7 separate regions of the Homo sapiens genome follow, and all the other regions are linked to region 1. The links are contacts of gene promoters, found by promoter capture Hi-C in blood cells and fetal thymus (Javierre and others, 2016). All regions are on one chromosome and are shown on one strand. Each heading gives the region's core, a stretch centred on a gene start or on the middle of the fragment in contact. The rest is flanking DNA. Distances are from core to core; before and after follow the strand shown.

Region 1 (3,826 bases), core at 770-3,269:
CTCTCTCTCTCTATCTATATATACACACACAAAAAAATGGCTGGATGTGGCGGATCTATCTATCTATCTATATATATACACACAAAAAAAAAATGGCTGGATGTGGCGGCATGTGCCAGCTACTTGGGAAGCTGTAGTCCTAGCTATTTAGGAAGCTGAGGTGGGAGAATCACTTGAGCCTGGGAAGTCGAGGCCGCAGTGAGCTGCGATCACGCCACTGCAATCCAGCCTGGGTGACAGGAGTGAGACCCTGTCTCAGAAAAAAAAAAAAAAAAAGACACATTAACTTTTAAAAAGAAAACAAATTATTTAAAAATAGGGCTGATGAGACCACTGAAGGCCTCAAGGTCTATCCTGATGAGGGTGGTGGAGGGGTCAGAGGGAAAGTTTGGCATGAACTAAGATCACAAGCTAGGAAGAGGACACCTTGATGAAGGAATCACACTTTCTGCACAAAAAGAACCTGGCCTTGTGCTCCTTCTCTCCTGTGGTCACCCACCCATTCATTTGTTTATTTTATTTTTATTTTTTTGAGACAGGGTCTCCCTCTGTCACCCAGGCTGGAGTGCAGTGGTGGATCTCGGCTCACTGCAGTCTCCACCTCCCAGGTTCAAACAATTCTCCTTCCTCAGCCTCCTGATTTCTTGGGATTACAGGCACCCGCCACCACGCCTGGCTAATTTTTGTATTTTTAGTAGAAATGGGGTTTCACCATATTGGTCAGGCTAGTCTCAAACTCCCGAGCTCAGGTGATCCACCCGCCTCGGCCTCCAAAACTGTTGGGATTACAGGCGTGAGCCACTGCACCCAGACTCATTCGTTTATTTACTGATTAAAAATTACTTACTGAGCACCCACCCCCTGCCAGTCACTGGGTTAGATTTGATCTCTGAGGTCCCTTTTGGTTGGAAACATAAAAAATTCTTGAAGTAAAATTTGTCCTTCTCCCATGATAACTTGGGTCACTTTACCAGACAGCTTAGAGAATGGCAGATAACAGCCTCCCAGGTCAGGGACTACCTAATACACCAGGCAGCAGGAACCAGTCTCAGCCAGCAGCCCTGGGCTGGACTGTTTGGGGGAAACAGGTGAGTGGTTTATTCCTGAGACTTGGTACAGGGGCCCTGGAGAAGGGGTGAGGAATAAAATAGGAGGCTGGTATCCTTAATTCCAGTCACCAGGACCCCTGGTGGATTAAAAGCATGCCTGCACCCACACTCTGACCTAAGGCAGGCAGTGAGGGCTTGAGTGCAAGGTCTTAGCAGAAGGCTCTCACAGTCCCGACATTTCTGCCTACTGTGCTCAAGACTACAAGGAAATTCCGAGGCCGCCTGAGGAGACCTGCCAAGAGTGTGTACCTGGCTTACCGGAGGCAGAAAGGGTTGAGATTGGGTTCAAATTCTAGCTCTGCCTCTGCCGACTCGTAACTTTAGTGTGTGCCTTACCCTCTCCGAGCTTTAGTTTTCTCACCTGTGAGTAGGACAAAAATCATCCCTGCCTTACGGGACGATGGTGAGCCTCTAAAGGAGGAGAAAGCAGAACAAAGTCCAAGCCCACTGTCTAGGCTGTCACGAGCTCTGTTCCCCTTCTTTCATGACACACGATCATGTGAGGTGGGGGGGCTCGTGGACCTGATACAGCTTCTGTCCCACCGAGCCCCAAACGGGGACTTGGGGCGCGGAGGCCTCCGCTCCGGAAGGGCGGAAGGACTTTCAGGATCGTCCCCTCACCCCCGTCCGGGCAGCCTCCAGCCTCGCCCCGCACTCCACCGAGCAGCAGAAGGGCCCGTTCAGGCCTCGCGCGGTACCGTACCGGAAAGTGTCTTCGATCTCATTGATGGTTGTATCCTTCTCCACCACCAGGAAATTGGGATGGCGGTTCTTGTTAAGCTCCCCTATGCCGCCCAGCAGGAAACCAGTCACCGTGTCCTCGTCTCCGATCACTGCGATGAGCTTACCCCTCCCCGCCATCCCTGCAGCCGGGCAGAGCTCACCCTAGAGCACCAGAAGCCACTGAAACCCCGCCTCCGCCGTACGGCGCCCCGTCGGCCTCAACCCCCACCCTTCGAGCATGCGCAGTCCTCCCAGCCGCATTCCGGGACATGCGCATTAACAGCAACACGGCCTCCATGTGAATACGCCTGCGCCGTAAAGACAGGCCCGAACCAGGGGACTACGATTCCCAGAAGACCGCGCGGCACCACGTCCTTCGCGGGCATTCATTCGTTCATTCACTCGTTCCTTGGTTCATTCGTTCAACAAGCGCTTTGGACCTGACGCTGTTAGACGCCGAGACCCCAGAGAAGAGACGCAGTTACTCATCTCAAGGGCAGGGTCTGGGTCTTTATCGTGTATGTATGTGTGTAACTATGACACATAGTTAACAAGTAACACACGTTTGTTCAGTTAAAGGAATGCAAAAGTTAATGATGATACTGCCTAGTGAGGTGGAAAGTCAAGGGAACAGGCGACTACAAAGCTGTGTGTTAATGGTTAGAATGTGAAAAGTATATGGAAGCACACATCCATGGTAACTAACCCATGGAGAGAGGGGGCGTCCAAAGAACCCTTCCCCAAGAAGCTTGCTTCAGATCTAAGCTGAGACCTGAAGGACCTGCAGGATGAAGGGGATAGAAGTGAGGACAAGACGGTGTTCTAGGCAGAGGAACAGCATGTGCAAAGGCGTACTGACTAGAGAGCGTAGGGCCTTCAAGGAAAGTTAAATAATTGGTAAGGCCAGGCATGGTGGCTCACGCCACACCTGTAATCCCAGCACTTTGGGAGGCTGAGGCAGGTGGATCACCTGAGGTCAGGAGTTTGAGACCAGCCTGGCCAACATGGCGAAAACCCGTCTCTACTAAAAACACAAAAAATTAGCCGGGCGTGGTTGTGGGCGCCTGTAGTCCCAGCTACTCGAGAGGCTGAGGCAGGAGAATTGCTTCAACCCGGGAAGCGGAGGTTGCAGTGAGCCGAGATTGTGCCATTGCACTCCAGCCTGGGTGACAGAGCGAGACTCTGTCTCAAAAAAAAAAAAAAAAAAAAAAAAAAAAAATTAGCCAGGCGTGGTGGTGCACACTTATAGTTCCAGGTACTCGAGAAGCTGAGGCAGCAGGGCTTACTCAGGAGTTCAAGGTTACAGTGAGCTATGATCACGGCACTGCACTTAAACCTGAGCAGCAGAGCGAGACCCTGTCTAAAAAAAAAAAAAAAGGATCTGCAGGCTGGGCGCGGTGGCTCACGCCTGTAATCCCAGCACTTTGGGAGGCTGAGGCGGGTAGATCACCTGAAGTCAGGAGTTTGAGACCAGTCTGGCCAACATGGTGAAATCCCATCTCCACTAAAAATACAAAAAAAATTAGCCCAGTGAGGTGGTGTGTGCCTGTAGTCCCAGCTACTCGGGAGGCTGAGGCAGGACAATTGCTTGAACCCGGGCAAGGGAGGTTGCAGTGAGCTGAGATGGCGCCACTGCACTCCAGCCTAGGTGACAGAGTGAGACTCTGTCTAAAAAAAAAAAAAAAAAAAAAAAAAGATCTGGAAGTTATCCTGAGGACAGTTATCCTGAAGCTGCTGAGGGATTTCAAGTAAGAGAGTGCTATCGCCAAACTTACGTTTTAGAGCTGTCACTCACTGTTGACTGTGCTGTGTGCAGAGGCGAAACTGAGGGAGGAGAAACCAAATTGGGAGGCCACTGTGAGAGATAATGGTGGCCAGGACTCAGGTGGTGATAATGGGAAACGCAGAGAAGTAGGTAGAGCCGAGAGATATTTAGATATTTAGGACAAAACTGGTTTCAGAGTGGATGTGTTTGGGGAGTGAGGTAGAGAGAG
Region 2 (3,826 bases), core at 966-3,465, 460 kb after region 1:
GAAAATGCTATGAGGCCCAGACTCCAGCATTTCTTCTGTGGCCTCTTTGCTATACAGAAGAAGGGCTGCCAAAGGCTGGGAGCAGCCGAAATTCTTTGTTTTTTTGGTGGTCTTTGGTGATGAGATTGAAAGCCCACCTTTGATACAGTTGTCATTGAAGTCTTCTAGGAGAACACCCTAGGGGAACGCCTAGGAGTTTCTCTAGGCCTTAGGGCAGATTAATGACCCACCCCCCTCCACCCTGTGGCTTTTCCTTCCTGCGCTAGGGATGCCTGCTGCTTTGCTTAGCTCAGTTCATAGTGTTCCTGAAGTGTGGGATATTTGCTTTTGGGTGTGTCTCTCAAGGCCTGCTGTGATTTTAGCAGGTTGGGGCCCCTGAGCTGTGACCCTGCACCTAGATGTACCCATGCAGGCCTGCACTTCCCTTGCGGAGTTTGCTGTGACCGTGGCCCACCCTAGTGTTGGTAGCTGCCATGCTTTGGCTGGGGACCCAGTGTCCTGGTCCCACCTCTAAGGCCTCTTTCCTCCCCTTTCCCGTCCTGGCCATTTCTGTTCTGCTCTGTCAGAACATGCCCTGCACTCAGCCCCCTGGGGTCCCTCCATGCTGTTCCGAGCCCTGTGTGACTCAGCAGCCCAGGCACCGGGGCATGCGGACTGTCCTGTGCTGGGTCATGTTCATACTGTGTTGAGCGCCACAAAATTGTTCTCAGGTTTGTTCCCAATGTTTACTTATTTTCTCTCCCCATCAAGATTGAGAAGTTTTCAAAGGCAGGCACTGTGTCTGCTGTGTGTGGCGATATGGGAACTTCTGTGTCGCTTGACAAACTCTGAGACTTAAAGGCAATGGATATTTTGGGCCTATTACCTTGATGGTACCCCAGTAGACCTTTCGCTGTCTTTGGCTCTAGCTCTGGGGGCTGGAGTTTGCCAGACTCTAGTGAGGTGCACGAGGTGGGAACTGCCCTGATGGGGCAGTAGGGATGGGGGGCTGTAGCCTCTGCTCCTCTAGGCTTTTCTGTACCCCCCTGCTGCCTCCTCTGGCATGGCAGGCTCTGCCCCTTTGGGGCACCCCTCCCCACTAATAACACTCACTTCTCTGTCTTCACAGCGACTTCCTGATTCTCCCAGGATTCATAGACTTCATAGCTGATGAGGTGGTGAGTACCTCTTCCTTTGACAAGGGGAGGGGGCTGTGTATGTGGTGGAAGAGGCTGACTTCTTGCTCAGGGGCAGGGCATGGAGAGATGGAGAGACTTTTCTTGGGAATGGGTGGATAGGATATAGTCCTTTTTTTTTTTTTTTTTGGAGACAGAGTCTTGCTCTGTCACACAGGCTGGAGTGCAGTGGTGTGATCTCAGCTCACTGCAGCCTCCACCTCCCAGATTCAAGTGATTCTCCTGCCTCAGCCTCCTGAGTAACTGGGATTACAGGCACATGCCAAAACCCCCCGATAATTTTTGTGTTTTTAGTGGAGACGGGGTTTCACCATGTTGGCCAGGCTGGTCTCAAACTCCTGAGCTCAAGTGATCCGTCCGCCTCAGCCTCCGAAGACGCTGTGATTACAGGGGTGATTCCACCCAGCTGGTATGGGTGGATATAGCCTTTATTGTTGCCAGAGAAACAGGCAGAGATCAAAGGGTTATACCTGATGGGGCAGAGGCAGCTATGGGAACACAGGAGTGTCCTGAGTGAGGCCTGGCCCAGGGCTGGGTGGCTCTCTGTCAGTGACAGAGCCTGTGGGCAGGTTCAGAAGAGGCCTGGGAAGGGGTGGGCTTGGGAGTGGGAACGGTGGGCTTGGGAGTGGCTGCCTTATTGTAGAGACCATAAGGATTGGATTTTGTCTGGAATGCTGAACAAGGACATGATAGAAGCCAGTGAAATTATGGAGATTTGAAACCGGTAGACAGACTTGTTCACTGATCCACAATGTACAAGAACTGGCAAGAGGGTTTAAAAGAGTTACATTTTGGATAAATACAAGGAAACGCAGTGCCTTGCTTTCCCAGAGGGGCTCATCAGTGAGCCGAATCAATGAACAATTAACATATGATAAACTCAGAGAAGCCCAGATGGGTAGTGATGATGGTGTAAGTCATTTCAAGAAAAAGTGCCATGATTCAATGATGAATTCATATACATTAAAAAAAAAACATTTCTTTTCTGTTGCTATTATTATTGCTATTTATTCTGGTCTGATTCTCATGAAAGGCCAGAGGGCCTGAGTGTGCCTGGATCACTTACATGTGAGGGAAGTTCACATCCAGCTGGTGTTTAGCCAGAGCTGACCCAGACAGATTTTCAGGGGGAAATTCGAATGATTCTGGTTGTTTCCCTTATGACAACAACCAGGAAGCCTGCTTGGTGCAGCTGTTCAGTTTAACAAAGTTTACTGGCCAGTGTGGCTTTGTGTCAGACCCTGGGCTGGCTGCTAGGAAGGGAGGGATTGAAAAGACCCCTACCAGCTGGGCGTGGTGGCTCATGCCTGTAATCCCAGCATTTTGGGAGGCTGAGGCAGGAGGATCACCTGAGGTCAGGAGTTTGAGACCAGCCTGGCCAACATGGTGAAACCCCATCTCTACTAAAAATGCAAAAATTAGCTGGGCATTGTGGCGGGCATCTGTAATCCCAGCTACTCGGGAGGCTGAGGCAGGAGAATCACTTGAATCTGGGAGGCGGAGGTTGCAGTGAGTCGGGATTGCACTACTGTACTCTAGCCTGGGTGACAGAATGAGGCTCCATCAGAGAGAGAAAAAAAAAAAAACCCTGCCTGGCCGGCAAGGATCTCCTTGTCCTGTGGCTTCTGTCAGGAAGGCTGTGGCCCTTCTGTGGCATGACAAAAGAGAAGATGGTGTTTTCTAGATCATGGGGCCAGAGGTCTGAACTAGGGTTAGTGATGGGTTTCAGGGACTTTGAATCTAAAAAAATTACATAGCAAAGTCTGCACAAATGTCTTGGGGACTGGGATCCACTACTGTTGGCCTGACCCTCAGAGGGGTATGTGCTCTGGCCTTTCCTCCATGGGCAGGTGGCTTTTAAATGGATACTTGCAATCCTGACCACTCTCCTGAGCTCCAGACCATTCGTTGCTTGCTTTCCTGGATGCCTAAAAGACTCTTTTCCATGCCTACCCCCACCTCAGCCCTTGTCACCCAGAATCCATTCTCCACCTTGGAGCCTGAGTGACCTTTTTGAAACATAAATCAGATCATTTCTCTGTCAAGACCCTCCAGTGGCTTCTCTCCGAATCAAATCTGAGCTTCTGTCCGTGGTCTTCACGGCCATGCATGCTGCCCCTGCCTTCCTCCTGCCTCTCCCTTCCCTCCACTCCCCTGGCCTTCTTTTTCTTTCTTAAGTGTGCCTCCGAAAGAACTGGACCCTGAGGCGGGTTTGCACTCAGTCCCTCAGCCGAGAGTGACAGCCCCTCTGACTTCTACTTAATCGGCTCCCACTGGTCACCTCCCAGGAAAGAGGCTTTCCCCAGTCACCTTGTTGCCAGTGGTCGCTTGGCCTTTTTGTTTTTCTCTGCAGCCTTCATCCTGACTGAAGTCATCTTGAGCATATGTCCTGTGTCTGTCATTTTTCTTTCCAAGTAGAACATAAGCTCCATTAGATGAGCTGGGAACTCATCCACCTTGTTCACTGCCATGTCCCCAGGGCCTGTCCTGGTGCCGGTGCATGTAGGAGCTCAGTGAGTGAGTGTCCAGTGGGTGATAAACTCTTTACGTGGGCTGTGCCTCCATCCTCAGGACCTGACCTCAGCCCTGACCCGGAAGATCACGCTGAAGACGCCACTGATCTCCTCCCCCATGGACACTGTGACAGAGGC
Region 3 (3,826 bases), core at 425-2,924, 430 kb after region 1:
TCTTACTCAGTCTGGTCTTCATGTCTCTTAATATTTCCTTCATATTTTCCAAGTTTTTGGCCCTCTCTGCTTCATTCTATATAACTTTTTATATCTTGTAGGGGAGGGGGTTTGGCCTATTTTTGTTTCTGTATTTTTTTTAATTCACTAATTCTGTCTTCTGTCCTATCTAATCTGTTGTTTAACTTGCCCATTGAGTTTTTAATTTTGATTATCGTGGCTTTCAGTTTTAGATGTTCTATTGATTTATTTTTTTCAAATCTCATCTGTTTTGATAGCATATGGCTCCTTTGTCATGTTTTCAGTTTATTTTTATTTTTCTGTAAACATTTTTTAAATTCTTATTTTTTACTTCATACCTAATAATTCTGTTATAGGAAAATGGAAAGGATATTATGCAGCTGTTTCTTGGGTATGCTGGCATTTGCTCATGTAGGCTTGTTTCTGTGTGATTTATTTTTTGCATTTGAGCTTTACTTGTCCAAACTTTTTGTGTGGGAATCATACATAGCCTGGGTTAACTGCAGCTCCTCCAGAGAAGCTTTGCGCAAAGCTTCTTCAAGGAACTAACAATCCACCGCTAATGTTTGTTCATGTTTGATCTTGTGTTTGCCCATACCAGGCACAGTATGCATTCTGTTTGCAAATACGCCTGAAGCCCAGGATTGCAAATTCTCAGTGGAAATGTTTTTTCAGGTCCAGAATTATGGCTGAAGCAGATACATTTTCCCTTTCTCCCCCTTTTGTTGATGGGCCCCAGCTTTATGCCAGGCTTTGGTTATTAACATTACTGAACAGCCCCCTCCCCGTCCCCGCCCACCCAAATCCAGCCACAGCTTCAGGGTTCTCATTTCTTTGCTTTGTTTGTTTGTTTGTTGTCCCTGTAGCTTTCCCTTCCTCCTCCACCCTCAAGCTCTGCTATGCATTTAAAGGAATGTTTGTCATGCTTTAGGTGGGAATACTGTCTGATTATCTAGTTCCTATACTGCCTGAAATTGAATCCAGGGGGAAATAGTACAGATACAAACGCAGATAATTTCTAGTGTTCTCAGCCCCACTGGAGCCCATTATGGATCCATGTGCTCCAGAAGATGAGTTAATCAGACAAGATCAGGCATTCAGGGTGGTATGGCTGTAGACAGAAGATGAGTTAATCAGATAATGGAATTCCTATGCTATTAGATAATTGATGTATGACCTCTCTGGGTAAATTAGAACCTTGACCCAATCAGAATGCACTAGTTGTATTTTTTAATTTTAATTTTTTTATTTTTTTATTTATAGAGACAGGGTCTCAGTGTTACCCAGTCTGGTCTTGAACTTCCAAGTTCAAGTGATCCTCTTGCCTTGGCCTCCCAAAGTGTTGGGATTAAATGTGTGAGTCACCACACCCAGCTTTATTTATTTATTTTATGTATTTACTTACTTACTTTTAGAGACAGGGTATCTCTCTGTTGCCCAGGCTGGAGTGCAGTGGTGCAATCATAGCTTGCACCTTCAACCTCCTGGGCTCAAGTGATCCTCCTGAGTCAGCACCCTGCCCCACTCCCAGTAGCTGGAACTACAGGTACGTACCACTGTGCCCAGCTAATTAAATTTTTTTGTTTGTAGAGACAGGGTCTTGCTTGGTTGCACAGGCTGGTCTCAAACTCCTAGCCTCAAGTGTTCCTTCCACCTCAGCCTCCCAAAGCACTGGGATTACAGGTGTGAACCGCTACAGCAGCCTAGATAGAATGCATTATTTTTAAGAGGGATTATATGGGTTGGCTGTGTCCCCACCCAAATCTCATCTTGAATTGTAGTTCCCATAATCCCCATGTGTCCTCAGAGGGACCTGGTGGGAGGTAATTGAATCATGGGGCAGTTACCCCCATGCTGCTGTTCTCAAAATAGTGAGTGAGTTCTCATGAGAACTGATGGTTTTCTTAGGGGCTTCTCCCACACTTCTTGCTGCCACCAGGTGAAGAAGGATGTGTTTGCTTCCCCTTCCACCATGATTGTAAGTTTCCTGAGGCCTCCACAGCCATGAGGAACTGTGAGTCAATTAAACCTCTTTATAAATTACCCAGTCTCCAGCTGTTCTTTATAGTGGTGTGAGAACAGATTAATACAAGGGGTTTGAAGATGGGTAATCAGTGCTAAATCTTGCAGGTGGCCAGGAGGAGGGATGTTAGCCACAAAGGTTTGTTTTTCTGAGACCCTTCAATCAGTTACCCTCATGCTTAATTTTCCTACATGGAGCTTTAGGGGAAGCCATGAGGAACATGGTGTCTGACGCATAGTAAGTGTTCAATAAATATTTGCTGACCAGATGTAGTGGAAGTGCCTTATCTTCCAGTCTGTTTGGTCTCAGCTGCAGAAGTGAGATGATGAAGGGAATCTCATCGTTTGGAAAGCATCACAGTAAGACACACACATTGTGCCACCACTGTGGCTCTAAGGCCCACCACCTCCAGAAGACGACCTGTGGCAAATGTGGCTACCCTGCCAAACACAAGAGGAAATATAACTGGGTGCCAAGGCTAAATGGCGAAATACCACCAGAACTTGTTGAATGAGACACCTAAAAATTGTTTGCCACAGACTGAGGCACAGATTCCGAAAAGGAACACACCTAAACCCAAGAGGGTAGCCGTTGCAGCATCCAGTTCATCTTAAGAATTTCAGTGACTAGTCATGTGACAAATGTTCTAGTTTTAAAAAATAAATAAATAAATATTTGCTGACCGAAAGTTGAATGCATAACTGAGTCATTGTGTCACAAAACGACTCCCTAATTTTCTGCAGTAAGCTTCCCTCTCTGTTGATGTGACAATCCCCAACCCAGAGTTGGAGAATAAATTTGTAAAAACATTAATATTACGCCTGTAATTCCAGCACTTTGGGAGGCCGAGGTGGGCAGATTGCTTGAGCCTAGGAGTTTGAGACCAGCCTGGGCAACATGGCAAAGGCGAAACCCTGTCTCTACAAAAAAAAATACAAAAATTAGCCAGGCATGGTGGTGTGCGCCTATAGTGCCAGCTACTCAGGAGGCTGAGGTGGGAAAATCACCTGACTCCAGGAAGTCCAGGCTGCAGTGAGCCATGATTGCGCCACTGTCCTTCAGCCTGGGTGACAGGAGTGAGACCCTGAGACACACACACACACACACACACACACACACACACCAAAAGCCAAAACAAAACATTGATACAAATGAGAGTGCGTGAATACATTGGGGTGATGTGTGACAGCCATTTCAGATTAATTGAAGAAAGCTTCCTGTGCAAAGTGGACTTGGAGTTGAATGGTGAAGGATGGGCTGCCCCAACACTTACATATGAATTGGGAACAGTAATATCTATGGGGTACTTACTATGCCCCAGCACTATACTAAGTTCTCTCCATCTATCAGAGCATTTAATCCTCCCAACAACCCTTAGAGGTGGGGACTATTATGATCCTATTTTGCAGATGAGGGATCGAGACACACAGAATTTAAGTAACTTGCTAATAAGTGATGGAGCTGGAATTCAAACCCAGGCAGTGTAGCCGCGTGTTTGTGTGCCCAGCTATCATGCCATATGGTTCTGCTTGGGCCTGTGTTCCTATACACAGAGCTACATTTTGTTCTACGGAGCACCATGTCATGGGAAGCCTCTGAGCCTTGCTTGTACTGTTCTCAAAACTTGAAATGACCCTTTCTTTGTCTGTTGAGCTCTTATTCATCTTTTCTGCCTCCACTGAGATTTTTGGTGCCTCCAGAATTTGACTGTAGTTTGGGCAAGGGCAACAAAGACAAAGAGGAAGGAAAGAATCTATAGTCTATGATTAGAAAAGATCAATA
Region 4 (3,826 bases), core at 811-3,310, 410 kb before region 1:
GCCTGGCTAATTTTTGTATTTTTAGTAGAGATTGGGTTTCAATATGTTGGCCAGGCTGGTCTCAAACTCCTGACCTCAGGTGACCCACCCGCCTCAGCCTCCCAAAGTTCTGGAATTAGAGGTGTGAGCCACTGCGCCTGGCCATGTTCCAGTTATCTACGGCTAAATTTAAAAACTATTCTAAATCTTAGTAGTGTTAAACAATAATCATTTTATTATTCTCATGATTCTGTGGGCCACAAATTCTGGCAGGGCACAGCAGAGACCGCTTGTCTCTGATTGACGATGTCTGGGAAACTCAGGTGGGATGCCCTGAAAGGATGAAGATGGCTGAGATGTCTTAACATGTGCCATAAGTCTGAAACCTTGGCTCTTCTCCAGATGGTGTCTGCTAGGGCTGGATTATTCAACATGGTTCCTTCACTCACTCCTAAGGCTGACAGTTGATACTGGCTCTTTGCTGGTAGCTCAATGGGGCTATCAACCAGTGCCTACATGTGTCCTCTCCATCTGGCTGGGGATTCTCACAGCATGGTGACCGGGTTCTATGTGCAAGCAGTCCAAGAGAGAGGATTCCAACGGGCACAGGCAGAAGACACAAGGCTTTTCATGACCTAGCCTCTGAAGTCCCAGAAAGTTACAGTCTATTGGTTAAGCAAGTCACTAAAGCCAGCCCAGATTCAAGGGGACAAGGGAAATAGACTCCACCACTGAATAGCAAGAAGGGAAGAAATTGGTGGCGGCCACTTTGGATACAAGCTACCACAGACCACCCTCTGGCCCCAACAAGGCCCTCCCACATGCAAAATACACTCACCCTCTTCTAAGACCTTCAAAAGTCTCATTTCATTATGGCATCAGCTTGATGTCCAGAATCTCGATATCTAAATCAGGTCCAGATGTGGTTGAGGCTCCTCAGATGCAGTTCCTCAGGTACAGCTACTGCAGTATAGTTCCTCCTGATCTGAATTAAAGAAACAAATTATCTGCTCCCACACACCCAACATACAAACATACAATAGTGAGACTGACTTAAGATAAGCACAATAGACACTCTCATTCAAAATGTGAGGAAAAAGGGAGAAGGAACAGGAGACACATAACAGTTACTGGCCCATAACAATTCTGAAATCTAATCAGACACATATCACCAGTTCCTCTATTACAGCCAAGTCCTACACCTTGAGAATGACTCTCCACAACCCTTGGCTCCACCCTCTAAGTTTCTGAATTAACCTTCTTTTTACATAAGAGATGGGTTAATTTTTGCAATGGAGTGGCCTTATAAGCTTGTTTCCTGCCTATAGATGATTGGAAATCTAAAGGCCTATTTTCACTTTCTACTGTCTCTGTTCCTCTTTTATTATTATGATTTCTTTAAAATCTTGTGGATTTCCTATGAATCTTATTGGGATTCACTCCAGCAGACAAAAGCCACATCCACCTTTTCTATCGCAAGTCTTATGTGAGGCTACTGTGAGAAAACACACTTAAGATCCCTAGAAGCCCTATTGTTTAACATAGTAAGCCTAAGAAGTATTCCCTTAAGACCTCTAGATATCCCTTTATCTAATTGAAAGGTTTTGTGAGGCATTGTCTTAAATCTTTCTGAAGTCGGCCAGGCGCAGTGGCTCATGCCTATAATCCCAGCACTTTGGGAGGCCGAGGTGGGCGGATCACCTGAGGTCGGGAGTTCGAGACGAGCCTGACCATCATGGAGAAACCTCGTCTCTACTAAAAATACAAAATTAGCCAGGCGTGGTGATGCATGCCTGTAATCCCAGATACTAGGGAGGTTGAGGCAGGAGAATTGCTTGAACCAGGGAGGCAGAGGTTGCGGTGAGCCAAGATCATGCCATTGCACTCCAGCCTGGGCAACAAGAGCGAAACTCCGTCTCAAAAAAAAAAAAAAAAAAAAAAAAGTCTTAGCAAAGGGATTTACAGTTGCATCACTGAGATCTTTACTTTGAGGCCATATTTTATTGGTAGCATCTTGAATTTTATCTTTCCTCTGAAGCCATTTATTTAGAAGTCATTGGTCAGGCTAGGCGCAGTGGCTCATGCCTATAATCCCAGCACTTTGGGAGGCTAAGGCGGATGGATCACTTGAGCTCAGGAGTTTGAGACCAGCCTGGCTGATATGGTGAAACCCTGTCTCTACCAAAAATACAAAAAAACAGCTGGGCATCATGGCGGGCACCTGTAATCCCAGCTACTCAGGAGGTTGAGGCAGGAGAATCACTTGATCCCGGGAGGCAGAGGTTGCAGTGAGCACCACTGCACTCCAGCCTAAGTGACAGAAAAACTATCTCAAAATAATAATAATAATAATAAAATAAAAGTCATTGGCCATTTGAAGCAACTAGAGATGAGAAAAAGTTTTATTTTCTATAATAACACAACCATTCCTGGGTTAGAAATATTTCCTCTAAGTTCTGTTTTAAAACTTAGTAGTTCATTTTTTAGTTCATTTATCAATTTGTACCTTATCATACTTAGAAAAAACTAGGTAACATTTTTTCAACATTCTGCCTAGAAATCTCCTTAGATACACTGAAGTCATTAGATACATTTTCTATGGTCTATGTAACCACATGTGGCAGTACCAATAAACCTTGAATCACTATATAACAAAGGTTCACTCTTTTCCCAGCCTCCAATAACACTTTTCTCTCTGTGTTTCAAGCCTTCACTGTCTTCTCAAGGTCCCTCCATCTTTAACCCTCACCAAATTCCAAAGCCAATGCAAATTGTAGGTTTTGGCAGCACCTTATTTCAAGGTACCAAATTTGGTTTCAGTTATCTATCACTACAAACTACCCTAAAGCTTAGTGGCATAAAACTACAACCATTTTATTATACTCACAATTCTGATTCAGACAGAGTATAGCAGGAACAGCTCGTGTCTGCTCTATAACATCTGGGGCCTCAGGTAAGGTGGCTCCATTGATTGAGGATAACTAGACTGGGAGCCATACGCCTAGGGCCTGGGCTTTTCTCCATATGATGCCCACTGGAACTGGAACTCACGTAGCTGAAAAGTGATGCTAGCTGTTGGCTAGGAGCTCAGCTGAGCCTCTCCATCTGGCTTGGACTCCTCACAGCATGGCAGCTAGGTTCCAAGACTAAATGTTCCATAGCACAGCAATCCAAAAGAGAATGTTCAAATAGGCCTAGATGGAAGCTGCAAAACTTTTCATGACCTGGCCTTGAAAGTCCCAGAATGTTATCTCTGCCACATTTCACCAAACAAGTCACTAAGGCCAGCCCAGATTTGGTATGAACAGAGGAATAAACTCCACCACTAGATGGGGGTGGTGCACATGTGGAGGGAAGGAACTAACATCAGCCATCTTGAAAACATGCTACAACAATCTGTCTTTGTTTCAATAAGTGTAATTCATTTATGTTCAGTATGATTACTGATGCATTTGGATTTATCTCTACCATCTTTTATTATGCTTTCTATTTATCCTATCTTTTCTATGACATTTATTACATTTTCCTTATCTGCTTTCTATTAAATGGAGGAAGTATACAAATTATAAATTCAATGAATTATAACAGAGTGAAACAGCCATGTAACTATCACCCAGGACAAAAATCCAATGTTACCCGCACCCGGGTTTTTAGCTTTATATAAATAAAATAACATAGTATATATTATTTTACATCTGGCTTCCTTCCTTCAACATTATTGTTATTCAGCCATGATCTTATGCATAGCAGCAATTTATTCATTTCCATTGCTTAATAGTATTCTGTTCTATGAATATACCATAATGTATCCATTCTACCATTGATATTGTCCACCAAATTTTAAGTT
Region 5 (3,826 bases), core at 640-3,139, 400 kb after region 1:
CCCTTGAATCTAAAAACTTCCCAACCTACAAGCTAGGTTGTTAATAAGGCAACACTTCATTTAGAAAACGTTTGTTTGGCCTACAGTGTGCCAGGATCTTTGTTCTTTGTAAAAAAACTTAATATAGATCTATGACCTCATGAGAATACGGCCTGAATAAGATTAACTGTCAGCAGTTCATCAACATTCTTTAATACAACACATCATTAGCATGGCTCTGAGAAAGTGTTATATTCTGTTCTTTTGTTGCAGATTGGACTACTAGAGTGAAGCAAATTGCCAAATTGTGGAGAAAAGCAAGCTCACAAGAGCACCATATGTGGTATTTTAAGAAACTCCTATCTTTTAAATATTTAAATACAGTGCTTGAACCTTATTTGTATTAGGTTAATAAAAAAACAAATTTCCATTTCAGAAAATGCTTGTTAGTACCTGTACAACAAGCAACTTTATTTTTACAGTGATTTTCTAACTCCTTATGTCTTAATACAGAGTGTGACATTTTTATAAGCAAGTTAACAGAAAAGGATCCCAGCACAGACACCAAGGTGGGCAGATCACTGGAGGTCAGGAGTTTGAGACCAGCCTGGCCAACATGGTGAAACCCCATCTCTACCAAAAAAAAAAAAAAATTAGCCCAGCATGGTGGTGGGTGCCTGTAATCCCAGCTACTCAGGAGGCTGATGCACAAGAATTGCTTGAACCCAGAGGCAGAGGTTGCAGTGAGCCGAGATTGTGCCACTGCACTCCAGCATGGGCGACAGAGCAAAACTCTCAAAAAAAAAAAAAAAAAAAAAGCACCACCAACAAAAACTAAAGAAAATGTGTGGCAAATCCAAGTAGAGACATATTTTAAGTATAAAATGCCCACCAGTATACAAACTTAGTATCACAAAAAAAGTATTTAACATATCTCATTAATAACACTTTATGTTATATTTTGGAATGATATCTTGAATACATTGCGTTAAATATGTTAAAAATATCTTCAGTTTCTTTTTACTCCTTAATGGGACACTAGAAAATTTTAAATTATATATGTAGTTTGCATTATGTTTTTATTGGACAGTGCTGGGCTAGATCTTATCTTCCAGCCCTTAATATTCTCATAGTTATCTTAAGCTTCAGAGGTAGTGTCATTCAAATTCAGAAAGCATTACACAGCATACAGTATATAAAATATTCCCTTCTTTAGGGTCCACTAGGTGGCACTAGAGTTCAGGCCACAAGCTAGTAAGATTTAAAATTTGTACTTGCACTTTGAAAAATTATTTATTTTTATTTATTTATTTTGAGATGGAGTCTCACTCTGTCACCCAGGCTGGAATGCAGTGGCACTATCTCAGCTCACTGCAACCTCTGCCTCCCAGGTTCAAGCAATTTTCCTGTCTCAGCCTCCCCAGTAGCTGGGACTACAGATGCTTGCCACCATGCCCAGCTAATTTTTGTATTTTTAGTAGAGACAGGGTTTCACCATATTGGTCAGACTGGTCTCGAACTCCTGATCTCAAATGATCTACCTGCCTTGGCCTCCCAAAGTGCTGGGATTACAGGTGTGAGCCACCGTGCCCAGCCTTAATTTTTTAGGAGACAGGGTCTAGTTCTGTCACCCAGGCTGCAGCACAGTGGCATGATCATGGCTCACTGCAGCCTCAAACTCCTGGGCTCAAGTGATCCTCCCACTTCAACCCCTTTGGTAGCTAGGACTAAAGGTGTGCGCCACTATGCCCAGCTAACGCTTAAAAAAATGTTGGGGGAGTAGTGGGCCGGGTGCGGTGGCTCACACCTGTAATCCCAGCACTTTGGAAGGCTGAGACGGGTGGATCACTTGAGTCCAAGGGGTTCGAGGACAGTCTGGGCAACATGGTAAAACTCCATCTCTACAAAAAATACAAAAATTAGCTGGGCATGGTGGTGTGCACCTGTAGTCCCAGTTACTGGGGAGGCTGAGACAGGAGAATTGCTTGAGCCCGGGAGGTGGAGGTTGCAGTGAACCACAATGCCACCACTGCACTCCAGTCTGGGTAACAAAATGAGACCCTGAATGGAAAAAAAAATTTTTTTAAATAATTTTTTTTAAATAAAGACGGGGTCTTGCTCTGTTCCCCAGGCTGGTCTTGAACTCCTAGGCTCAAGCAATCCTCCTGCCTAAGCCTCCCAAAGTGCTGGGGTTACAGGTACGAGCCACTGTGCCTGGCCTGTACTTGCAGTTCTCTTTTTTTTGAGATGGAGTTTCACTTTTGTTGCCCAGGCTGGAGTGCAATGGCGCATCTTGGCTCACTGCAACCTCCGACCCCCAGGTTCAAGTGATTCTCTTGCCTCAGCCTGCTGAATAGCTGGTATTACAGGCACCTGCCACCACGCCCAGCTATTTTTTGTATTTTTAATAGAGATGGAGTTTCCCCATGTTGGCCAGGCTGGTCACAAACTCCTGACCTCAGGTGATGCACCCGCGTCGGCCTCCCAAAGTGCTGGGATTACAGGCGTGAGGCACTGCACCTGGCCTGAACTTGCAGTTTTCTAAATGAGCTGTGCATAGGCTCATCTCCATGCCTTTGCTCCCGTTGTTCCCTCCGCTGAGACACCTTTTCCTAAGTTGGCCAGCAGCCTACAACCTACGCATTTTTAAAAAATTGAGATCCTCTAAGAAGCTTTTCCTGAACACCCCTCTCCTGCCTACAAATAACTTTATATACCCACTATCCTGTATACGTATTTCTATCACAAAACCATGACACATTATTTGTTCACATGCCTTCCTCCCAATACCTTGTGTACATCTGAGGCAGGTAGCGATGAGGTATTAGCTGATGCCTGGCATCCAATAGGTGCTGTACACAATGTACCAATCAGGATAAGCTAAGTTACACTTCAGTTAACAAAACCCCCAGATATCAGTAGCACAATTCCTGTGCTACAGTGCGGGTATCAGTCACCTTCCCAAAACAGGCCCAGTCCTTTTGCAGGGGGTGGGGGGTAATGGGAAATATAAGAACATACCCTAGAGAAAGCAACATGTCTAGAAGTCTCTCCCACATCACAGTCAGATTGGACAGATTAAGGGCCCTGCGCCATGCATCCTCATTCCAGGACCTACACTAATGAACAGTTCCATAGGAAGCACTGCTGGTCACTGCACAGAGGGAAAAAGAGGTCCTCGCAGGTTTCTCCAGCACTGAAATGCTCTCACGTAGAATTAACGCAAGCCACTACCACTCACAGCTCATTGGCCAGAACTAATGACATGGCTCCATCCAACCACAAGGGGGTGGTGGCACACAGATCACTTCAATTAAACTAAGCCACTTGGAGGAGAGACTTAAGGTGCAGGCTCTCCAATTGAAGGTTCAAAAATACCCCAAATTAGAAGCATGAGAATGAGAAAATATATCAAATATAAGAAATATGACTAGAAGAGGGTAACTACTGGCACATGAAACTGAAACCAGAGAAAAAGCCAAATAGACTTTTGAGAGTAGTACTATGCTAACAAAGTAACAGTCATATAAACCCTGCCAGCCACAAGGGGACCAATTTACCATGTACCCGAAAGGTGGGAAACTGGAAATACTTGATAAATAACACTAGTGACAACCACTGTGCAATAAATGAAAGTGATGCTTAACCCACAGGCTTCTAGGGTAGTGACATTTTAAGAACACTCAGGAAGCAAAACTGGCTTAACAGAAGACACTGTACTTCATTGTTGCGCTTTAGCAAAAGTCAGTCAAGTTAATAAAATGATGCACACGCCCAGATGGGAGTGTAAATAAATATATTCTGAAGGGCAAAGGAGTGAATACAATTGTACGTGGGACAGGAAGTA
Region 6 (3,826 bases), core at 350-2,849, 350 kb before region 1:
CACCCCAGGGGAAGCTGCATGCCTGTGCTCAATTATCTTGTGATCACTGCTCCGCGAGGCAGCCGTGGTCACAGAAGAGCTTTTGTTCATATAGAGCCGACTGGCTCAGGTGGACAGCCAGCACATGAGGGCGCCATCAGCCTGACATCTGACTGTCAGCCGTGGCCACATTAGCACAAAGCTCTTGGCCTTTCAGAGCACCCTCGGGAAGATGGGGAAGACCAAAAAGATTGGGACCAAGACAAGGTAAGGAGGCCAGGATCGGAGCCCATAGAAGAAAGAACGCACTAGCTGGGCGCGGTGGCTCACGCCTGTAATCCCAGCCCTTTGGAGCCCGAGGCGGGTGGATCACTTGAGGTCAGGAGTTCGAGACCAGCCTGGCCAACATGGTGAAACCCCCTCTTTACTAAAAATACAAAAATTAGCTGGGTGTGGTGGCAGGCACCTGTAATCCCAGCTACTCAGGAGGCTGAGGCAGAATTGCTTGAACCCAGGAGACGGAGGTTGCAGTGAGCCAATATCATGTCACTGCACTCCAGCCTGGGGGATAGAGTGAGACTTTTATCTCAATTAAAAAAAAAAAAAAGAGAGAGAAAGAAAAAGAAAAAAAAAAGGAAAAACACACCAAGAGTTTATACAAAAACCTTTTATTGACTGTATTTCTTCTCCCCATAACCTGGAACCCAGCCAGCATCTATGGCTTCCTGCTGTCTGATTCTTGAAAGTGGGGCCTTGGGAACATGTTTGGAGGCTATGGAAGGTGGGAATCTCCTCACCCACCGGCTATGCAGGTTGAAGGAAGCTTTCTTGCCTGGCTGAAGCTACGGCAGCTTCCCAGGGTAGCCCCTCAAGTCTAGAGGACCCATCCCCCACTAAATGGGTGTGAGGAAGAGATGATGCATCTTTCAGAGGCTTTGTCACTCACTGCTCCTATCCCACTCCAGACTGAGGCCCTAGAGCTGAACCAGTCTCTCCTGTGGAGATGGGGCCCAGCAGCGAGGGGAGGGGGTTAGAGGTGAGTGTGTGCAGCAGCTCTGGGTCCTCATCAACAAAAAGGAAACGCAAAGAGGTTGGCACCGCTGAAACTGAACTGAAATGGAACAGAAGAAGGAGGATATAGGAGAACAAAAGATGGGTTTGGGGTAGTGCCACCTATTAAGAGAGGACATGGCCCCTGTGGGAGCAGGTCCTTCCAGCCCCACAAACACCTGGGAGAGGAATACGGTGCCCTGGCCCTACTTAGACAAAGGACTAATGACACAGTCAACACTTTTGGACTGAGACTGCCAGGAAAGGGCACCCATCAGCCCAGAAAACGGCAGCCAGCCCTCATCTGCCAGACATAGGCTAGGCTGCCTCCCTGGCCACCAAAGCCCACTCTGGGAACTGTCACCTCTGCCTCCACCGTTCCTGCCCCACCACAAGCTCTGCATACCCCCTGCCCCGATGGAGCAGATGCTGCCAACCAGGCTGCAGCTGGCAGGGCAGAAACAAGGACCCTGAGCTCCAGGGCCCTGTCCCTGGGGTGAGGCCTCCCCATGGAGATGTTAGGCTCTTTCCCACAGTCCTGCTGCTTTGAGCCAGACATCCAGAACTCTCTTCGGAGGGCAGTCAGCCCACAGGTTCTCTGGAAGACGGGATCCTAGGGAAGCATGCTCGGTGAGGAAGAAGAGCCTTGAAGGTATTGGTTCCTCTCTTTCCTGTCCCAGGTCCTGCTCTGCAGGCTCAGAAGTCCGAGTCTGCATCCATGAGTTCTGTGTCCATCAGGTTGGTGCGGGAGTGAATAGGCCCCAGGCCCTGTCGGCGGCCATGAGCCCATGCCACGGGGGCCGGTGCACTGGGCAGAAATGGATCCTGAGGGGGACTGGGCTCTGGGCAGAATGGGTTGGAGACCAGGGTCCACGCTCCCTGTCGGCAAGAGTCCCCAGCTCCCCAGGCACCTGCAGCCACCAGGCATTTCTGCCGGGGCAGCTGAGGCAGTCGAGGAATGGTACTGGGGGCAGGGGCAGGGGGGTGAAGCTCAGGGGGCGGCGCCAGCGGGCACACCTCCTTCTTCCTCTTCCTCCTCTTCTTCTTCCGGCCCAGGCGCTTCTGCAGCTCTGGGGAGATCTCTGCCTCAACCAGCCACAGGTTGGCTTGTTCCTCTGGGGGCACTGACAGGAGGAGAGACAACACGAGCCTGGGGCCCTGGCTCTGTCCATGCCACCCCCGCTCCCCTGGGAGCACTTAACCTGTTAGTTCTGGGGCCCAGGTCTCTAGACTCTTAGAGCCTCAGCCCCACTCTTCAGATCCTCTGGGGCCTTTCCTTCCTCTTCCTCCTCCTCCGACAGCCCCTGTACTCCAGTCCCAGAAGCCCCCAGCCTCTGTGCTCCCCCCACCTTCCTCCAGAAGCTTGAACTCTCATACCTGGAGTTGCCACAGGGGTGACAGAAATATCCTGGGGCAGTATGGCTCCTCTCCGAGCCACCATCTTGGTGACATGCTGGGCCCAGGCAGAGGAGACATCAGCTGAGGGCTCATTGAGGTCAAAGGCCAAGCCCGCTGTGGGAATGGAAGGAAGGAAAGGAGAAGGAATAGTGACTTCCCGGTCCCTGGCAGTGCCTCCCATAGTCAGTGCCATTCATCTTCCCACAGCCAGTCCCTCCTGCTCACCAGAGAAAGCTCACCCTGTAACCACGGTGATCTCTACCCCTTCAGAATCTGAAGAGAAGGGCCTCACGTCCCCAAAGGGCCTAACTGGAGGCCAGAAATCCAGTTCTTGGAACCCTGACTTACTCTTGCCCAGGGAGAGCAACTGGAGAATTTATGAGAAGGGAGAGGGAGGGGAGTCTTCTTGGAACCCAAGCACCGGCAAGCAGACCCAGGGGCAGAAACAGAGAGGGGAGAGCCCCCCAGAGGGTAGGAGGGGCCGGGGGAAGAATGGGTGTGTGAGCGATGGAGGGAGCGCCTTGCTCCTCACAGTCGGTCTTCCAAATAATCTGTGTGCCCCCAGCAGGCTGGGAGAGACTAGCACATGGGCAGCGCGGGGCCAGGCGGCTCCGGTAGAGGAGGGGTGAGGCTCACCCACGGGCCCGTCGTGGGACACAGTGTGCATGCTGAAGGACAGCTCCTGGCCTGGGTTCTGCAGGAGCTCGTGCCGCTTAGAGAAGGCCTTGGCAATCATCTTGCTCTTCTTGATCCGCTTTGGCTCATCGTCACTCTGCCCAGTCAACCTGAGAGCAGAAGGGATAGGGAAGGAGCGTGAAGAAGCTGCCACTTCCCATCAAATCTTGGGAAGGGCCAGCGATGCCATTCTTTCCAGAGAAGGAGGCTCCCAAGGGCCTCAAGTCCTTCAAGGACTCAGGAGTAGAGGCCTTCTCTGCAAAGAAGTGGGGCCAGAATGCAGAGCTCCTGTGTGCCCAGCCCTCCAATCACTCCGCTCTTAAAAGGTGATGGCAGCTGGCTCTGCCCTTGGCCCAGGCCCAGGCCCAGGCATCAGGCCACCCAAGGACAGAAGGTGCCACCAGGGGGCAGCGGTGAACCACTGACCAAGGCTGTGCTAGAGGCAGGACCCGACAAAACCTAAAGATGGGGTCCCAAGGCTGAGGGTGAGGCGGGCAGGGCAGGAGGGGCTGGCTGCCATGCCCACCTGCACCAGGTACGCCTCCAGATGAGCAGCGTGGCCTTGGTCCAGACCCAGGTGCTCATGGCGATGCCAGTTCCAAACATGGCAAACAGGTTGATCTTCTCCACCAGAAGGCTCGGGCGATTCTTGATCTCACAGTCAGGGATGGGCTGCTTGGTGGGCAGCCCGATGGTCACATTGGCCTGACATCTACAGTGAGGG
Region 7 (3,826 bases), core at 935-3,434, 260 kb before region 1:
CGAGCCCGGGGCTGCGACCGCGGCCCAGGCCGGCGTCGGGGCGGCCGAGGGCGGGCGGCGCTGCGGGCCTGGTCCGAGGGTAGCCGAGGGGCGCTGGGGCTGAGGCGAGCGAGCCGCCGCCGCTGCCGAGGCCCGAGGGAGGCTGACGCTGCAGCCGGAGTCCAAGAGCTTTTCAAACTTCTTATATTTTAAATGTGTTAATTCATTTAATCCTTAAAACGATGACATGAGGTAGGTACTATTATTATCCGCACTTCACAAATGAGGAAACTGAGGCAAACAGAGGTCACCTAGCTTGCCCAAGGTTAAACAGACAGCCACATCCAGAAAGCTATAGAGTCTGGCTTTAAACCCAGATAGACCAGCTCTAGGTCTGTGATCATAACCACTGAACTTTACTGCTTCTTACAGCAAGAGTGTATCTGACGAAGTCGTGACTTGGAACTGGCCAAGTCTAGGAAGGATCCAGAGTTTAATTCTGAAGAAGGGAAAGGAGGCTGATATTAAACATGCAATATTTCCAGGCTGTGCTCAGATCTTCATGTAGCTCATTTATGATTACAGAATACATTGCTAAAGAAAAATGGTAAAGAAACGATACTCGTATTTTGAGCAAATCCCCCTCCTCAGACTCCATTTCTAATTACTGCCATTTTCTGAAAGAGTTGTAAGCAATAAATTCTAACTCTGTTAGAAGAGAAGAAAATGTACTGCTCAGGAAGAGTCCTGCAAAACAGAAAAACTTCAAGACAAGCTTAAGCAGTGGTTGCAGATTTATTGCACATTACATTATTTGGATGGACAGGTGAATTTTCTTTGTCCCATAATGTCTTAAAATTTTTGAATTTGAGCTGGGCACGGTGGCTCATGTCTGTAATCCCAGCATTTTGGGAGGCCAAGATGGGAGAATCACTTGAGCCCAGGAGTTCAAGACCAGCCTGAACAACATAGAAAGACCTCTGTCTCCACAATTTTTTTTTTAAAAAAAATTAGCTGGGCATAGTGGTGAGCACCTGCAGTCCCAGCTACTCCGGAGGCTGAGGTGGGAGGATCATTTGAGTCCAGGAGTTTGAAGCTGCAGCGAGCTGTGATCATGCCACTGTACTCCAGCCTGGGCAAGAGAGCTAGACCTTGTCTCAAAAAAAAAAAAAAAATTGAATTTGAATGCTTTTAGCTTGAGCTTACTCTCTCCAATTAGCCATCATCTTTACCACTCCTAGTTACAAACACTATATTACTTCCCTGGACCTAGTAGGCATGCATAGAGGGAGATAGAGATCATTTGTGCAACTAGAGTGATACAGCCAATGAGTAGTCAGTAAAGAACGGAAATTAGGGGCACGCCATTATCAGGGACAGGTCTGTTAGAATCCCATAAAAAATTCCAGTTGTATTCAACCTCCACTGACAATGACGTGGTTCCAGATCACAGTGGATGGAGGAGACTCACCATGCAGAACTGAGTGACGCAGCAGGAGTAGCATCGTGGCAAAGGTAAGAGGTGAGGCTGTGCCAACCAGAACAGGCTGTATTGAGGAGGAGCAAGAAATAAGGTTGGAGGTGTTCGCGAAGGGTTTCAAAGGGCAGGCAGAAGAGTTCAGATTGTGTGAGGTGGAAAACAAATAAGGTTTGTTATTTGGGGCCCTGGAGTGCCTTGGAGATATCCTGTCTCTGGAATATCTGGAATTGCAACGGGAGTAAGAAGTTAGAAGAGCGGCTGTAGATGTGAAGAGGAGGAAAGGATCCAGGGGAATCGAAGTGAGGAGGTTGGCTTTTGTCTGTAGAATCAGGTCTGGTCAGAGAGGAAACTGGGCAACGCAATCATGATCTCAGGGGAAGCATCATGATTTGGTGGAGTTGAGACTGGGGCCGTGGACTGCAAACAAGGGGTTTGGGGATATTTCCTATCAGGAGCAGTCTCACATCCATATAGGGGTAGGCCACTGTGCACTTTTTATGTGAGAGGTTCCATAACGTTTCTCTTCCCTTACTTCTCACCCTCACCAACTTGTCTGAAATTCCCACCATTCTCTAATCCAATTCCCATTATGGTTAGGTTAAGGTGTGGAATCACTATTTAAAATTCAAATATAGGCTAGGTGCAGTGAGTGGCTCACGCCTGTAATCCCAGCACTTTGGGAGACTGAGGCAGGAGGATCACTTGAGGCCAGGAGTTCGAGACCAGCCTGGGCAACATGGCAAAACCCTGTCTCTACTAAAAATACAAAAACTAGCCAGCCGTGGTGGCTCACACCTGTAGTCCCAGCTACTCCGAATGCTGAAGCACAAGAATCGCTTGAATCCGGGAGGCGGAGGTTGCAGTGAGCCAAGATCGCACTACTGCACTCCAGCCTGGGTGACTGAGACACTGTCTCAAAAAAATAAAAATAAAAATAAAAATAAAATATTAAAAAGAAAATGCAGAAAATGCAAAGATTTCTAGGAGGGATACCCAGACCAATATCTGCACTTCAAATCTTAGAAGTTAAACATTTATCAAGACATGATTCTGTACACCCTCCATTCAAGCCACCAGAAATCTGAGACAGAATCTCATGTGTCTGAGACTCGACCACTCTGATTTTGAAGTGAAATTATTTCAAATGCTTAAATGGGTAGCACTGAGTGTTTGTCTGTTATTTTTCCAAGCCCAGCACCTATTCCCCGTTCTGGTACCAGCATGCTAGATTTCCTTTGGGATGCCACCCCACCTCCTGTCTCAGGCTCAGTGAGCATGGGAGAGATCTACCCTTCCACCTGGCAGGTGGAACGCCGGACTCTGTTCTGGCCAATCAGAGCCCAGGGATGGTTATGCGCTCTAACTTGGTCCAGTCAGAATGAAGCCTCTAATTTAGTTGGGGAGGAGGACCATTACTGAAAGGGATTCCCTCTCTCTTTTGCTGGGACCCCCTGGGATTACAGATGACCTGCAGCCACTGGGGGCTACCCCAGGGCTCCTGAGAGAGAAGGTAACACTGAGGAAAGGTAGAGCTGAGACAGGGTTAAACCAAGTCCCAGTGACATAGTTTGAGCCACAAGATCAGTGGTGCCTGAAACAAGCCCTAACCTTAGACTTTTCAGTTATGCGAATCAGTGAAATTGTGTGGTTGTTGTTTGTTGGTTTGGTGTTTTGTTTCATTTTGTCTAAGTCAGATAAAAATGGATTTTCAGTTATCTTGAAACTGAAAATCTGCTGACTGGCACGCCATCCCGCTGGCTTGTGTGCTGTGCACATTAACAAGACTCACCTTTTCTTAGGATTCATCCTATGTGCAAGATTACCAGGATGTAGCCAGATTCAGGATGCCTGTTTTTATAGCTTAGCTACAGAGTTTTTCTTCACCTCTAGCAATTGCCTATGCCCTTTCAGCGGCCTCAGCAGGGAGAAGCACAGTGGGACTCCTTGAAAGGCAGATCCAGAAGGCTGGTTATGTGGACAGTTCACCACAGTTAACTGGGGTAACCACAGTTGGCCTGGGCAGTCCAGAAGCAGATGACCCACCCCCATACTGTGGGCAGCTCTTCCTGCAGTGCTTAACTCCAGAAAAAAACCCTCCACCAGTTCCTTACTAAGGTGGTAAACAACCCTAAGAAATCTGGCTCTCTAAGCTTGGGACAGCCAAGAAATGAGTCAGCCTTCTGGAGAAACCCCCCTTGCCACAGCCTGTGCTTCCCCATTTCTGCCAGGGCCCCAGCCCCAGCCCCAGCCCCCATGTCAGTAAAGCCTATGCATTTCTTTCAAGAGCATGACAAAACCTCATATCTGAAAAGCACTGAAGTGCTGTACCTCTTTCAAAGTACTTGTGCATTCATTATCTCATTAGGA

The links. The method cuts DNA at HindIII sites, captures the fragments that hold promoters and counts their contacts. A CHiCAGO score of 5 or more calls a contact.
Region 2: a contact is called between a fragment that was not itself captured here and the fragment with the promoter of ATP6V1F in region 1, in 1 of 17 cell types (naive B cells). The highest score is 5.3, in naive B cells.
Region 3: a fragment that was not itself captured here is called in contact with the fragment with the promoter of ATP6V1F in region 1 in 2 of 17 cell types (endothelial precursors and erythroblasts); the score reaches 8.2 in endothelial precursors.
Region 4: a fragment that was not itself captured here is called in contact with the fragment with the promoter of ATP6V1F in region 1 in 1 of 17 cell types (naive B cells); the score reaches 5.1 in naive B cells.
Region 5: a fragment that was not itself captured here is called in contact with the fragment with the promoter of ATP6V1F in region 1 in 4 of 17 cell types (endothelial precursors, erythroblasts, fetal thymus and 1 more); the score reaches 7.8 in endothelial precursors.
Region 6: a contact is called between a fragment that was not itself captured here and the fragment with the promoter of ATP6V1F in region 1, in 1 of 17 cell types (naive B cells). The highest score is 5.4, in naive B cells.
Region 7: a contact is called between a fragment that was not itself captured here and the fragment with the promoter of ATP6V1F in region 1, in 1 of 17 cell types (M0 macrophages). The highest score is 5.1, in M0 macrophages.

Annotation. Positions count from the first base shown.
Region 1 is chr7:128,861,049-128,864,874 of GRCh38, reverse strand. ATP6V1F (ATPase H+ transporting V1 subunit F) reads right to left here and starts at 2,019. Exons shown (of 2, transcript NM_004231.4): 1 at 1,813-2,019. The coding sequence starts at 1,970. FLNC-AS1 (FLNC antisense RNA 1) reads left to right here and starts at 2,249. Exons shown (of 4, transcript NR_149055.1): 1 at 2,249-2,350. RefSeq lists enhancers at 1,726-2,215, 2,296-2,405. The HindIII fragment of the contact is 9,717 bases long and covers 1-2,582 here.
Region 2 is chr7:128,401,037-128,404,862 of GRCh38, reverse strand. It overlaps IMPDH1 (inosine monophosphate dehydrogenase 1), which reads left to right. Exons shown (of 17, transcript NM_000883.4): 5 at 1,109-1,157; 6 at 3,747-3,826. Among named protein-coding and RNA genes, the nearest start is that of IMPDH1, 7.0 kb to the left of the region's middle. RefSeq lists enhancers at 1-513, 514-1,130. The HindIII fragment of the contact is 5,465 bases long and covers 1-3,826 here.
Region 3 is chr7:128,432,254-128,436,079 of GRCh38, reverse strand. It overlaps the pseudogene RPL37P16. Among named protein-coding and RNA genes, the nearest start is that of HILPDA, 22 kb to the left of the region's middle. The HindIII fragment of the contact is 2,238 bases long and covers 556-2,793 here.
Region 4 is chr7:129,271,418-129,275,243 of GRCh38, reverse strand. All of the region lies in intron 1 of AHCYL2 (adenosylhomocysteinase like 2), which reads right to left. Among named protein-coding and RNA genes, the nearest start is that of AHCYL2, 48 kb to the right of the region's middle. RefSeq lists an enhancer at 3,162-3,456. The HindIII fragment of the contact is 1,538 bases long and covers 1,292-2,829 here.
Region 5 is chr7:128,458,939-128,462,764 of GRCh38, reverse strand. It overlaps the pseudogene EFCAB3P1. Among named protein-coding and RNA genes, the nearest start is that of HILPDA, 5.0 kb to the right of the region's middle. RefSeq lists an enhancer at 3,096-3,390. The HindIII fragment of the contact is 1,529 bases long and covers 1,125-2,653 here.
Region 6 is chr7:129,210,351-129,214,176 of GRCh38, reverse strand. It overlaps SMO (smoothened, frizzled class receptor), which reads right to left. Exons shown (of 12, transcript NM_005631.5): 9 at 3,629-3,814; 10 at 3,064-3,212; 11 at 2,407-2,541; 12 at 632-2,153. The coding sequence ends at 1,726. Among named protein-coding and RNA genes, the nearest start is that of AHCYL2, 13 kb to the left of the region's middle. The HindIII fragment of the contact is 1,589 bases long and covers 805-2,393 here.
Region 7 is chr7:129,122,613-129,126,438 of GRCh38, reverse strand. It overlaps the pseudogene LOC407835. Among named protein-coding and RNA genes, the nearest start is that of TSPAN33, 20 kb to the left of the region's middle. RefSeq lists an enhancer at 3,315-3,584. The HindIII fragment of the contact is 2,855 bases long and covers 757-3,611 here.